Linked DNA regions of Homo sapiens: all the other regions are linked to region 5. Evidence: promoter capture Hi-C in 16 types of primary human blood cells and fetal thymus (Javierre and others, 2016). All regions are on one chromosome and are shown on one strand. Each heading gives the region's core, a stretch centred on a gene start or on the middle of the fragment in contact. The rest is flanking DNA. Distances are from core to core; before and after follow the strand shown. Region 1 has its middle 27 kb from the start of TMEM14A. Region 2 overlaps LOC730101 (a long non-coding RNA gene). Region 3 has its middle 29 kb from the start of TMEM14A. Region 4 has its middle 44 kb from the start of GSTA2. Region 5 holds the start of PKHD1 (PKHD1 ciliary IPT domain containing fibrocystin/polyductin).

The links. Contacts are between HindIII fragments. The CHiCAGO score rates a contact against its expected background, and 5 or more counts as called.
Region 1: a contact is called between a fragment that was not itself captured here and the fragment with the promoter of PKHD1 in region 5, in 1 of 17 cell types (total CD4 T cells). The highest score is 5.3, in total CD4 T cells.
Region 2: a fragment that was not itself captured here is called in contact with the fragment with the promoter of PKHD1 in region 5 in 1 of 17 cell types (total CD4 T cells); the score reaches 5.5 in total CD4 T cells.
Region 3: a contact is called between a fragment that was not itself captured here and the fragment with the promoter of PKHD1 in region 5, in 2 of 17 cell types (naive CD4 T cells and total CD4 T cells). The highest score is 6.1, in naive CD4 T cells.
Region 4: a contact is called between a fragment that was not itself captured here and the fragment with the promoter of PKHD1 in region 5, in 1 of 17 cell types (non-activated CD4 T cells). The highest score is 5.3, in non-activated CD4 T cells.

What each region holds. Positions count from the first base shown.
Region 1 is chr6:52,642,892-52,645,591 of GRCh38, reverse strand. No RefSeq gene overlaps it. Among named protein-coding and RNA genes, the nearest start is that of TMEM14A, 27 kb to the left of the region's middle. The HindIII fragment of the contact is 3,233 bases long and covers 1-2,700 here.
Region 2 is chr6:52,667,471-52,670,170 of GRCh38, reverse strand. LOC730101 (a long non-coding RNA gene) reads right to left here. Exons shown (of 3, transcript NR_024405.1): 3 at 1,018-2,700. Among named protein-coding and RNA genes, the nearest start is that of TMEM14A, 2.3 kb to the left of the region's middle. The HindIII fragment of the contact is 966 bases long and covers 921-1,886 here.
Region 3 is chr6:52,698,903-52,701,602 of GRCh38, reverse strand. No RefSeq gene overlaps it. Among named protein-coding and RNA genes, the nearest start is that of TMEM14A, 29 kb to the right of the region's middle. The HindIII fragment of the contact is 238 bases long and covers 1,306-1,543 here.
Region 4 is chr6:52,717,832-52,720,704 of GRCh38, reverse strand. No RefSeq gene overlaps it. Among named protein-coding and RNA genes, the nearest start is that of GSTA2, 44 kb to the left of the region's middle. The HindIII fragment of the contact is 274 bases long and covers 1,354-1,627 here.
Region 5 is chr6:52,086,165-52,088,864 of GRCh38, reverse strand. PKHD1 (PKHD1 ciliary IPT domain containing fibrocystin/polyductin) reads left to right here and starts at 1,252. Exons shown (of 67, transcript NM_138694.4): 1 at 1,252-1,431. The HindIII fragment of the contact is 11,017 bases long and covers 1-2,700 here.

The DNA.
Region 1 (2,700 bases), core at 77-2,576, 560 kb before region 5:
CATAAAAGTATCAATGATATCTGTCATATTCTGCTTACCATGGCTTAGGAAGGGAGAGAGGACACACAGAAAGGGGAAATAGCTGAGACTGGGCAATTTACAAAAGAAAGAGGCTTAGTGGACTCACAGTTCCACCTGGCTGGGGAGGCCTCACAATCATGGTGGAAGGTGAAAGGCATGTCTCACATGGTGGCAGACAAGAGAAGAGAACTCATGCAGGGAAACTCCCCTTTATAAAACCATCAGATCTCATGAGACATATTCACTATCATGAGAATAGCATGGGGAAGACCCACCCCATGAAGGTCCCTCCTACAACACATGGGAATTGTGGGAGCCACAATTCAAGATGAGATTTGGGTGGGGACACAGCCAAACCATATCAGGTGGCAATTTTGCTTAGGGCTAGCATTTCTAGAACTTATGAAGTCACTGGAGTAAAAACATATATTTGAAATGAGCCCTATATCTTAATTTAAAAATAAAATAAAGTGGAGAGAATGAAAGAGTGGGTTTAAGGGGGTACATAGTAGAAAAAACCTAGTTCATATCCTGCCACTAACTAGCCATAGTCTTAGATGAATTACTTAAACTCAGTTTCTATAAAATGTGGTGATGCATGGTATCTAAGACGTTACATCAGTTAGGATTTAGTTGCAAGTGACAGAAAATCCAACTGAAACTGGTTTAAACTGTTAAGCAAAAAGTTACTCTATTGGCTCTTGCAAATAAAATCTAGAGATAGTTCTAACTTCAGAAACAGTTTGAACAGTGTTCCAAAGAGGCCACATGAACCAAGTTGTTCTTTATTTTACTCTCTACTGCTCCATGTGTTTGGCTTCATTTCAGACCATGCATGGCGGCAAGATGGCAGCCCCAGTACCAGCCAACATGTCTCCATGGTTCAAATGTGGATTTGAGGGCAAACTCAGAAGCCCAAACAGACCCTCCAAAATGAGACTGAGTTATGTTCTTATCCCTGAACCAATCACTGACCACAGGAGAAACTGACACTCTGGATCATATGCCAGTCCTGGGTCGGACACCATCCCTGGAATGCGAGGTGGTAGGGAGGGACTGTCAACTCCACAAAAACCACAGGGATGGAAAGTGGGGAAGGGTGGATCCCCCACAAACATTGGAGGCCGTTCCTGGAAACAGGGTAAGTGAAGAGGGGCTGGCCAAGAAACCACACACATCTACCATGCAGATCTCAGTTCCAACATTCTGCAGTTCTGTGAGGCCCTCCTACGGCCCAGAATACCAGCATAGAAAACCACATTCACCAGACTGCCCTCCAGATGGAGCAGGAATGGGCTTGGGGAGGAAGGAATCCCATTTCCATTTAGGATGACTACAATCATACACTTCAAGAGTCCTGACTGGAAAGGCTGTCTCTCCTGGCAAACCAGTCCCATTTCTCATTTCTCTAGGAGAAATGCACACAAAACTTTCCATACTCCTGCCTGGCATTAGCTCTCTGCTGACCTCCATCTCCCTTTCACCCTGTCTGCCTCTGCTCGGAATGTGTCTCTCTTGGACTACCGCTGTCTCCTATCTGACTTCCTCTGCTACCTCTCTCTATTCCTCTCTCCCTCCAATACTGACCGGTTGAAGCTGTCATTACTGTCTGCCTAGCTTTCTCAAGAGTTTCTACCTCTGTTTCTTTCTATTCTCTCTCTTTTTGGGGTTCTCCCTGTCTCTGCCTTATTTTTTCTCTGTCTTATCCTGTCTGTGCTTCTCTACCTCAGTCTCCAAGAACCTGCCTGTCACTTTCTTTACTTGGCACTTTCATTCTTTGTGTCTGCCTCCCTTTCTGCATCTGCTTTTGTCTCTATCTTTTTCTGAAATAGACAGTTCTCACTGCTCCAGATAGGGTCTAAAAATGTCTACAAGTCCTGCTTATTCCATATGTTTATCAGCAGATGGACCAACACTGTTTGAGGATGGAGGCAAGACCTTGAAGGAGGAGAATTTAGAGAGAAGAAGGAAGCATTGACAGGGCACCTGAATCATGGTGCTGTGAATAAGGGGTTATTCAGACCAAACCTACACAGCACACACACACATTAATGTCACAAACCACCTTCAGATAGGCGCTAATCTTCTCCATCACAGTCACAGTTGGGTATGGTTGAAGTTTTGTTTTTTCTCAGTTGAACGCTTTTTAACTGATTAGCTGCTCCCTGGATTTCAAAGCAGCTTGGATATCTGTAACTGACACACAATCTCAGTGCCGCAGCCTAGCAGTTTACAACAGGTCCTTTGGATGAACTGACTTTGCCATTGTGTGCCTTGTGAGTTTCACTGTGTGGACAGCTCAGCCCCTGTTTTCTCTGTGGCAGTTATCCAGGTCCTGCTTCTCAGTGACTAAACACATCTCTGGTGCCCAATGCAGTGAGGGCTGACATTAGGCCCTTCTTAACATTAGTCTACAATTTCCAATTCAATAGAAGATATTGCTGGGTTTTGGAAAATAGAATGTGGCAGAAGTAGACATATATCCAACAGGCTTTGCACTCAGGTTTTATTTTTACACAGAGTTTAAAACTTATATCACATACCATCCCAAGGACTGTCCTAATCTTCAACAAAGTTAGTTTTCATTTCATTATTTCTTCATTTTAAAGGTTGATACATTGGCTTTTGCAGTCACCAGCATATTTTTTAACTACTATGATGTAAATGGCAAAGAATGTG
Region 2 (2,700 bases), core at 154-2,653, 580 kb before region 5:
AGTGCTGGGATTACAGTTTAAATTGACTTTAAATTATGCCTCCCTGTAGCAACTTATCATCTCAATCTTCTGCCTTCTTGATTGAATACAGAACTCCGACCCTCTTCCTTATGTAACAGCCCTTTGGAGATTTGAAGAAGGTTGTCATAGTGAAGTAGCTCTAGAGGTTCTGTGTCACTGAGAATTACAGCGGAATTCCTCAGAATAAAAAAGGAAACTCAAAAATTAAATCTTGTGAAGTTTGTTTGCTACATCTATTCTTTGTGCATAAAAGTGCTTCAGGGAAGTAATATAACTACATCTAACTTATGAAAGTCTAAGTTGGTCCTGGGGAATTAATAAAATTCCTGAAGATTCACAGAAGAGTTGATGGCAAGGCACTGGAATGTGGCGTGGAGAAAGTGATAGCCTGAAATTTGGTTCTGAGTTCTCTCAGCCCTCCTTTCCATCCCCTTCTATGCCCATCCTTACCCCAGCCTCCTCACCTTCTCTCCTCACACTCTCAGAACACTTACCCTATTTGGAATAAAACTAAAATCCTCTTGGAATACTTCATTATCTTCATCTGATGTGACCTGGGTAAATAACTCCCCTCTGGACCTCAGTGCCTGGATTTAAGATATGGACAAGACTAGATGCTCTGAGATCCCTTACACCCTATCACCAACATACTCGAAGCTGGAAACAGCCTCATGATATTCCTACTCAAGGCGTATCACCTAAAACTAAAGAAAAACTCTTTGAATATTATGGGAATTCCATACCCTTGAATATGTGGGAACAGGATGGTTCTTAGGCAAAGGGACCACTGCCCTCTCAACTCATAGGCACCAGCTGCTGCCTTCTCCAGCTAATGGAAAGGCTGCAGCCCAAGGTAAGGATGCAGGAAAGCCTATTCCCCTCAACTGTTTTGTAAAGCTTTCTATGCATGATCCACAGCAGAGACTCTTAACTTTCAATGTGTCACCAACCTCTTTGGCAGTCTGGAGAAATGCACAAAATAAAATACACAGGATTGCAAAGGAAGCCAATTTTATTGAAATGCAATTTCATTGAAATCAAATTCTTAAACATTTAAATCTGTCACATAATAGATGTGCTTCTTTATTAACATATTAAAGATTACAAGACCTAGGGGGTGGATCTAATTATTACCATAATTTCAGAGTGGTGCTGTACATAAATATTTTAAGATATCTGTAACGTGGATATCTGTGATTCCTAGTGATGACAGAGACACAGGTACTAATACTGCTGTGGTTTGTTGCCTATTTTCCTGATGGAAATAAATAAAAACTTTTTTCCATCGAAGTTTTCAGATTTCCTGATTTCTATCCTCTGGCCCCTTTAGATTCACAGATTCCAATTTAAGAACTCCCAGTCTATAATAATGCAAGTTTTCGTAAGTTGTACATAGATGGAATCAGAGAAATGGAAGTAAGGTGAAGAGCCTCACTGACTGGCTGGCTGCTCAGGCAGGGCCTCACGGGATGGTTACACCCTGTGGATCCTGAGCCTGCTCCTCATTTTCAAATGTTCAGAAACTCAGTTTGTCTCAGTTCTTCTGGGGGCACCCTGGCTTTTGAGAGACAGATTCATAAAAATCAGAGTCACAAGGGACTTACTGATTTTTTTAAGGCCCACTTCAGATTCTTGATTTTTTTCTCCTTTCAGATTTCAAACAATGTCAAAGGACATTATTCTTGTCCTTTGAAAATATGATCTTATGGCAGGCCAACATTTTAGCATCGTTTCTATGGCTCACTTACAATGACAGCCATCTTGCAGGCACACGTCTAAAGAGGTTACCTTCCATTTCTGTGAAGTCAAAAATCTCCATAAGTGCTTTTGCACTTTTTGAGGAAATTGAAAAGTAACCAAAAGCTTTCATTATGAAAGTCTCAATGTCACATTTAAGCAACTCACATCCCTTTTTAGCAGTGTTGTATATAAGATGTACAAGGCATTGAATGGATAAGATCTTTTCATTTTCTTTGGTAAGAAGTTTGTAGACTGAATGCAATTTGCCAAAATTTTACATCTATACTGTCTGACGAATACACAGATAGATGAGCTAAGTCTAGTTTGTATTTAGACAAAATATCAACAATATTTTATGATTTCAGCAGTTTCATTAAAATCCTCACAGAAATGAAGAAGATGATTTGAAACTCCTGTTTTCAAGTCAAAGTACCTAACAGCTAGAGGGAACATATTTTTGCTGCCATGATTTGGCATATTACTTAAAATTGATGTACTGTAGAAACCAGGATTGTTGGTGAGATATGACAGAAATTGGCTTTATACTGTAAGGAGCCAACACATCTGTTATCAAAAAATTTCCCTTCTTCTTTGTCCAGAGGATATTTTAGCTGCAATTCTTGAATCAGGAAATGAAACTTTACTCAGTTTCATAGAGCAATCAAGGGAACGCTATGACAATGCAGGCTTATTTGCCTGGTATGCCCATGCTAATTCAGCAGCTGCTATTTTTGACTGAGCATTGGTGTCTTTTGGGGAAACAAAGGTATTTTTGATTGGTTTAGAAGCATTCACCTGTCCCATCTTACTTGTGAGATTTGCCCTCCATATGTGCTTGCACATCCCCTTCTCCACCATGTCCAATCTCAAATTTTTTTCTGTATATTATGTAGTATGCTCTGTTTTGGTTATTTACCTTCCTAGTTCAGTAGTATGTGT
Region 3 (2,700 bases), core at 175-2,674, 610 kb before region 5:
ATGCATTACTTAACAATGGGATACATTCTGAGAAATATATAATTAGGTAATTTTGTCATGTGAGCAACATAGAGGTTATTCTCCCAAACCCGGATGTAAAGACTGCTACACACCTGGGCTTTATGGTACAGTCTATTACTATTAGGCTACAAACCTGAACAGCATGTTACTGTAGTGAATACTGTAGGAAACTGTAATGCAATAATAAGTATTTGTGAGGCCGGTTGAGGTGGCTCACACCTGTAATTCCAGGACTTTGGGAGGTTGAGGTGGGTGGATCACCTGAGTTTGGGAGTTTGAGACCAGCCTGACCAACATGGAGAAACCCTGTCTCTACTAAAAATACAAAATTAGCTGGGCATGATGGCGCATTCCTGTAATCTCAGTTACTTGGGAGGCTGAGGCAGGAGAATTGCTTGAACCCGAGAGGCGGAGGTTGCAGTGAGCCAAGATCATGCCATTGCACTCCAGCCTGGGCAACAAGAGTGAAACTGTGTCTCAAAAAAAAAAAAAGTATTTGTGTATCTAAACATAGAAAAGTTACAGTAAAAATATAGTATTATAATCTCATTGTATAAGCAGTCCATGGTTGACTGAAATATTATGTAGCACATGACCGTAGCCAATAGCCACCTCCTGTGCCTGAAATTTCCTTGTGTTATGAGTCAGAGTAAATTTTCAAAAGTTTAATAATTATGCTCTAAGATTTACAATTTTGCTGAAATGGCTGTGCTTTGCTTGTCTTTGGAGCCCCTGCTGTACCTAACACAGCTCCTCACACAATTAGCCTTTAAGCAAAAGATAAAATTGAAGATTTTTAAAAGTTCAGGAGCGAAACCTCTTTGGTGTGATCCGGCGAAACTCAATCAAAACGTAGCAGAAAATTCTTCAGATAGTATCTAGTCTGAGAAATCTGGATGTACCCCATATAGTTTCATGTCCAGACCTAGAACTGTGAATGCCAGCAGGCTGGACTGCCTCCTATTTCCCACAACCCTACCTCTCCCTCCAACCTGCCACCCTCCCGCGGTCTGCCCACCTCCTCTCAGGGCTTACCCTGGTAAAGCCCTTGTTGGAATTGGAGATTGAGCTCTGCCTCTCTGATTCTTGGAGACTCGCCGGATCAGATAGCCTAAGTTACCTCAGAGTTCCTGACATGAAAAATTGTAGGAGAAACTGAAATCACAAATGTATGCATTTTTCATCACACTTCATAAATATTGTAAGTTGTAAGTAAATAGTGCTTAGGAAAAAATAAGTAAAGTAAAGCATGTTTAGGAAAAAAATGCTGCTTTTTGGAAAGCTTTGTTTTATACCTTGGTAATCACTGTCCATATTCTCATATTTGTTAACTTTGGAATATGATGACTTCCTTTTATAATAATTATTTACATAAAATTACACATTTACCAAGATGATAATATTGAAGATGTAGTAGGCTTGGTGAGAGGGCAACCTAGCTCTGGTTCTTCTACCATTTAGCTGAAAGACTTTAGGCAAGTCACTTGACCTCTCTAGGCTTCCTAAGCATCCAAAGGAAGCTTTGGTTAAGAAGAGCTCCAATATTATAATGTCAGCTGCTGCCTTTCCTTTTTTCCTGGTGAAAATATGAGAGAGAGAAAGAGACCCACCAACTCTCTGAAACATGGAAGTGTTTTGGAGCATCGAAGGTAGTGAAGAGAAAACATCTAGTACTGGGGATTGTAAAGCAGACCCAGAGAGAACTTATTTTGCAAAAACAAAGAGCAGAGGGGATAAAGACGAACTCCCTCCCCATATTCACACTCACACTCTACCCTTGCATACAGATTATTTTTAAATTTAGTAAGCATCCAATTTCTACTTCTGAATGCCACATTTCTGTTCATTAAGACATAGTCATAAGGAAAATAATATGTCTACTAAACATCTGCTCATTTTTAGAGAAAGGCCAATATGGGTGGCTGAAAATTTTTATCCGTATTTTCTAATTTTTCTACAATGAGTTTTAGCACTTCTGCAATAATATTGAAAATATTTTTAAATAAATAAGGGGAAGAGAGCTTTACATCCATCTTCTTTGTCTTATAAAAATGGCAGAATTCCCTGAGACTGAAATGTCTCTTACTCTTGTGTTTGAGAGTTGAAGTTAATGCTGGTCTTCAGGTATAGGAATGAGAGTGATAGGACATCAAGGTTTAACACTATTTAACATTAAGTACTTAGGAATTATGACCAGGAAGCTATGTATTAGCATCTTCTCTGAATATTTTTTATTACTCCAAATTGTAAAATTTAACATTTCAAATTATTTTTTATTGTAAAACGGATAGAATACAATCTGGGAAAAATAATATTTTCCAGTTTTTGTTGGGTTTTTACATCTCTATGCTAGAAAATATTAATAATACAGGAAAACTAATTGTATTTCAATTTTATGTTAAAATTATGCTATACAAAATGCACACATTTAATTGGTAAATGTATTTTAAAGCGAAAGTATCCAGAAGTTAATTGGTAACAATCTAACAATAACACTGATTAAAAACTCTTGTGAGTGGTAAGAAAAGATAGCTTGATTTATGTTTCTTTAAATATGCAACAAAGGATCTTTTAAGTTAATTTTGTTTTATTATTAGATTGTTACCAAGTAACTTCTAAGATTAGCTGCAACTTAATTCCTATGTCTAAGCCTCTTTGGCTTAAAGAGAAGGTATGTAA
Region 4 (2,873 bases), core at 241-2,740, 630 kb before region 5:
GAAGAGTAGAGGGCAGAGGTGTGGCTTGAGGAGGGGGGTGGGAGGTGGTAGATGACTCACTGCTGTAAGTCCCGTCAAGGAGTATGGATTTTATTCTAGGTGAAATGGGAATCCAAAGGCTGGCCCTCTTCCATGCAGATTTTGCCCAGAAGACACAGTATTTTGGGAGGTATGGTTCCACACTACAGCTATTTGAAAGCATAACTGAAACTTATGAGGAAAAATCCATCTGCTTCTGTACCAAAAAAAGAATGAAGATAAAACTGAAAATCAGTCATAGTGTGTGGATTTGCCAAACTAAATTAAATTACTTTTCTGGAGTCTAGTGGATAAGTGTCTTAGTCCATTCAGTGGCTGGAATAAAATGCCGTAAACTGAGGTGTTTATAAACAACAGAAATTAATTTCTCACAGTTCTGGATGCTGAGAAGTCCGAGGTCAAGGCTCAGGCAGGTGTCTGGTGAGGGCCTGTTTCTTCGTAGACGGTGTATTAGTCCGTTCTCACACCACTATAAAAATACTGCCCAAGACTGGGTAATTTATATAGGAAAGAGGTTTAATTGACTCACAGTTTCACAAGGCTGGGGAGGCCTCAGGAAACTTACAATTACAGCAGAAGGCAAAAGGGAAGCAAGGCCCTTCTTCACATGGTGGCAGGAGACAGAAGTGCAAGCGGAGGAAATACCAAACACATAAAACCATCAGATATCGTGAGAACTCACTCACTATCATGAGAATAGCATGGGGGAAACTGTTCCCATGATCAGATCACTTCCCTCCCTTGACACATGGGGATTACAATTCAAGATGAGATTTGGGTGAGGACACAGAGCCAAACCATATCAGACAGTGCCTTCTTACTGAGTCCTCACATGGTAGAAGGGGCCAGCAAACTCCCTTGGGCCTCATTTATAATGGCCCTAAAGGCACTAATTCCATTCATGAGGCTCTGTCCTCATGACCTAGGCACCTCCCAAAGGCCCCACTTCTTAATGGCATCACCTTGGAGATTAGGTTTCAACATATGAATTTTAGGGGGACACAAACATTCAGACCATAGCAATAAGAATGTTGGTAAAATTTCTAAAATAAATGAATTATGCTGACACAAACAGGGCAGCTACTAACTCATAACTATAACTGAGACTGCTATTTGCCAGATACAGCTCACAGAGAAGGTAAATGTCAATCGAAACATTTTAACAGAACAATTTAAATATACTCCAAGAGCATCCCCCTTAAACTCACCAAATCATTTCAAAACTAAAAGCAGACCTGTGAATGTGGTTAATTGCCTCTAATATCATGTTTTATAAGTTAGTATTTTTATGTTAAGTTTTCTTAAAATGAAGCTTCCAGTATAAGGATGCCTGTTTGAACTTAAACATATGGTCCACACACATACACATACATGAAGAAAACGTGTACCAAATGTTTAAGGGCTGAATTGCACTGAATTATGAAGTTCCATGATTTAAGATTCACAATTTTAAAACATTGGATTAATATGTAACATGTCATTGGGACTTCTTACAAAAAGAATTGATTTTGCTTAATTTTTTTTCAATACAGTTTAAATAAACTAACTTGTTTGCTTATCTAGCTATCTCCGATTATTTTACAAAGCTTTATTTTCCACTGTTGGTAACAATTTAGTAACTAGTGCCAAGCAATGTCCTGCAAGGAGAGTGAAGTGCAGACCTTTCTAAGTGAGACCAGTATGTGCCGAGGCACCATCTTCATGGGAGCAAAAAAATCCCACTTTATATCACAAGCAGGATATAAAGATTTTCTATAAACCAGAAAATATGTATTCAATATTCAAGGAACCATGAGCTTGTACTGTGTGCTAGCTTACTGGATTGACTTTTTAATGTAATGGAAAGTCTTTATTCTTCCTCTGAAATTGCCCAAGAATCCTCATTACTAAAAGCCAGTTTGAGTAGAAAGCAGAATGGAGGCATAATGCCAAGATGACTGATGATACATTTCCAGAATCCTAGGCTGAGGATAAACATAATTTTAAAAGGCATGTAATTACTGGTCTATTTAATTCCTTTTATTCTTACACCTGTTAAAGATGGAATTATTGCCTTTGATTTTTTATTTTAGAGGCACACTTGAAAGCTGTGAAATTACCTACTTAGCAGCTTTGCCTGCTTGCTAAAGTTCTTCTGGTTAGAACAAGGTAAATGCAGAGTAATTACTTCTCATCTCTCCTTTTTTGCAAATAGGTAGAGGGAAATGATTGATGTTCATAGTCTATTGAGTCTTTTTTTTAATAATTTCCCTCAAATAAAAGATAGATTTGGAAGTAGTTACAAAAGGAAAGAAAGAGCTAGAGAAAGCTGGTGCAAGATGATATTCTATTAATACCGATTGCTTGGAGCTCTGTTTGATGCCATTTGACTGAGGAAGTCACCACTTTCTCTCAAGCAAAAAGTTCAGTTGTTAAAAATGCAGGAAATATTCTAGAATGTGCTTACTATATGCTTAAAACTTAAGTCACAGATACTGAGAATTATTTTCAATTTATCCTAAGCTTAAAATAAAGCGAGAGCTTACATTAAAGCCAAAATCACAACTAAAATGATTTAAAATGAATTAACCTGATTTATTCAGTTATAGCTAAATACTCTCATTATTCTCTCACCTCAAATCAATAATAGATACTAATTTGAATGAATAGGCTAGAGATTTGCCATTCTATTCTAGATGTATAAATAATTTTTAGAATAATAGACATATGAACACACACTATGAAAAATATATTTCTAAATAAATTAGCAGTCTGTTTCTCATGTTTCAAACTTTCATTTTGAGTTTATTTGAATTTTTTTGGGGGGGAGTGGATAGGGTCTCACTCTGACACTC
Region 5 (2,700 bases), core at 3-2,502:
AAAAATATAACTTTGAATTATCTAAGTGATTCATATCATTTTTATAAAAATAAAAGTTACTAATAATGTTGAAATCTCCTTTACCCCCAAACTAGTCTTCCCCCTCCTTCCCATTACCCACATGCCAGGCACACAAATGTGGTTCAAATGATGCTTGTTGACCTGCATGGAAGAGATCCAGAGTGGAAACTGAGAGAGGTTCAGCAGGCAGGCAGGGTGGTGGGGTGACTGACCCCCTACCTGCCCCAATCTGGCCAAGCACCCTCTCTCTACACCACTAGCTTCAGGGCTACAAAAATTTTTCAGCTTGTCACGGGTTGCCAAACTGTGATATACAGCAGAGTTGATGTAAACTTCCACACTTTCTAGAGGATAGTTTTACTACTGTCATCAGAGTTGTGGTCGTATTTCCATGGCTTTAATCTGGTTTTGCTGGAGATGCTTCTCCAGGTCTACTGCTGGTCCTTGAAGGTGGAGACTCAGGGCTATCAAATTTTACCAAAATGACTTCTCCCTCAAAGGAAAGGGAGAGGATAGAAGATAAGGACGTCTTCTGGTCAGGTATCGCCAGACGTAGACAAACATGATCAGGAATTGGGGGATGTGAATCAGAATGGGCAGTGGGACAGGAACAGAGAAGTCAGACATGGACCAAGTAAGAAGGTGTTGTTGACCTTCCTAGGCCCACCAGTTCAACCGATGACTGAGGCCCATGGTCTGGGTACGACTGGAGGGTGATGAGTACAAGTCAAGGACCTCCTCTTGGTTAAAAAAGCAAGGTCAAGAGGGAGGATGAGGAGTAGAAAAATGAAGAGAATCAATCAACCCTTTCTCAGCAAGACTTGGACCAAGTTACTTCCCTTCTGTACTTCTTTAGACCCATACCCCTACAGTGGGTATATGAATAACAGCCCATAACCTGGTATTTACGAGTCACTCTTCGGGATGAAGAGTGAGAGACTGTTCATGAATGGGGATCTGCCCTCTAGTGGTCCTTTCTCTTGAGCCCTCTGTTCAATCGCTGATTTGCTGGCAAATTCTTTCAATGTTGAATGCCTGTTTGTCTCACTGGGTGGACTTTTACTTAAAATTCTTATCTGGGGCACATGCAGTAAGTGGAGAAAAATGTAAGACACTTTTCCTTTGGTCATTACTAACAAGCCCTGAGGAAAAAGCCTGAGTGGCTTATGTTAATCATTAAACTTACCCATGGTCAGGTCTGAACTTTTACTCTGGTACACATTTGGCTGGGACACAAACGAGTTAGGTGAGTTATAGTCTAACGTGAGTGAGTTACCTGCGTGGTGGCTGCAGGCTGAGCTCTAACCAGATAACATGTCCACGGATTCTTGACAGAGAGAAATAAGATCACTTAGAAAGAAAGGATCATTTCTCCCTTGAGTCACAAGGAGACAGAAACAGAAAAAAAAGGTACTGTTTGATCCAGAAAAGTCTCTGCTCTCTGTTTTCTAGGTGTTGTATCTCTTGTTAACGTTCTGGTGAACAAAAGGAAGAAATGGGAGATCTATAGTAGTGCCTTGCAACTTTGTCCCTCGATGTCCCAAAGGAGAAGCTGAGAGGGAAGGGAGGAAGAAGGGAAGAGGGAGTGAGAGCAGAGAGAGGAGAGAGAGAGAGGAGAACAAAAACATGACTAAATAAATGCACACAGCTCTCCTCTGTGGTTGAAAAATTTTAGTTATGAGAAATAAAGAGAGTCTGAGTTTATTTTTAGGAAGAATTAGTGGATAGACTAATAAAAAATTACATTTATAATTGACATGAAAAAGATGCAGTTCCAAATGTAGGGTTTTAAGAAAACCAGTGTGCGAATGTTTATTTCTATTGTTCTGAGCTTGGGAGTAGGCATTAAGAAGAAATGTTAAAATCACGTAGCCAGATTGAAAATAGACTCTCCTGTGCTGAGTATATTTTGTCTGTGTAACAAGCAAGTCAGATCTCATGCTTTTGGACTAAGCAGCAAATACGCTTGGGTACTTTTCCCTATGTGGTAGATGTATTCTGAAAGTTGTATATTTATAAGTTGAATTCTATTTCAAATAGACGTAAAAGTTTGGGAATTTTGCAACGAAAAGGAACACTTGCTGAATCCACTTGAAAATACTAGAATTCCTTTCTTAAATCCAAGTAGCCTCCACACTTACCCTATCTGGTAATGACTCGGGGGCAGGTACATAGATTGTTTGTTTTCCCAACTTTTAGTATAGTGCTTAGCACGTAGTGGGCATACAATAAATGTTTGCAGTGTTGAATTAAATAGAAATGATTATAGATTTCCAGCTGTCTCAATCAGAACATGCCCGTAAGGTGAGTTTATTGCAAAGTTTTTGCAGATTTTTTTTTTGAGGGGGGGAGTATATTGTAGCTTTTATATTTTCAGAAATGATGTAACTACTTCTGCTAATCTCAGTGTTTTCTTAAAAATATAAATTAAATGGCCAGGTGTGGTGGTTCATGCCTGTAATCCCAGCACTTTGGGAGGCTGAGGCAGGGAGATCACTTGAGGCCAGGAGTTCAAGACCAGTCTGGCTATCATGGTGAAAACCTGTCTCTACAAAAAATTCAAAAATTAGCCGGGTGTGGTGGCGCACACCTGTAATCCCAGCTACTCAGGAGGCTGAGGCATAAGAATCACTTGAACCTGGGAGATGGAGGTTGCAGTGAACTGACATCATGCCACTG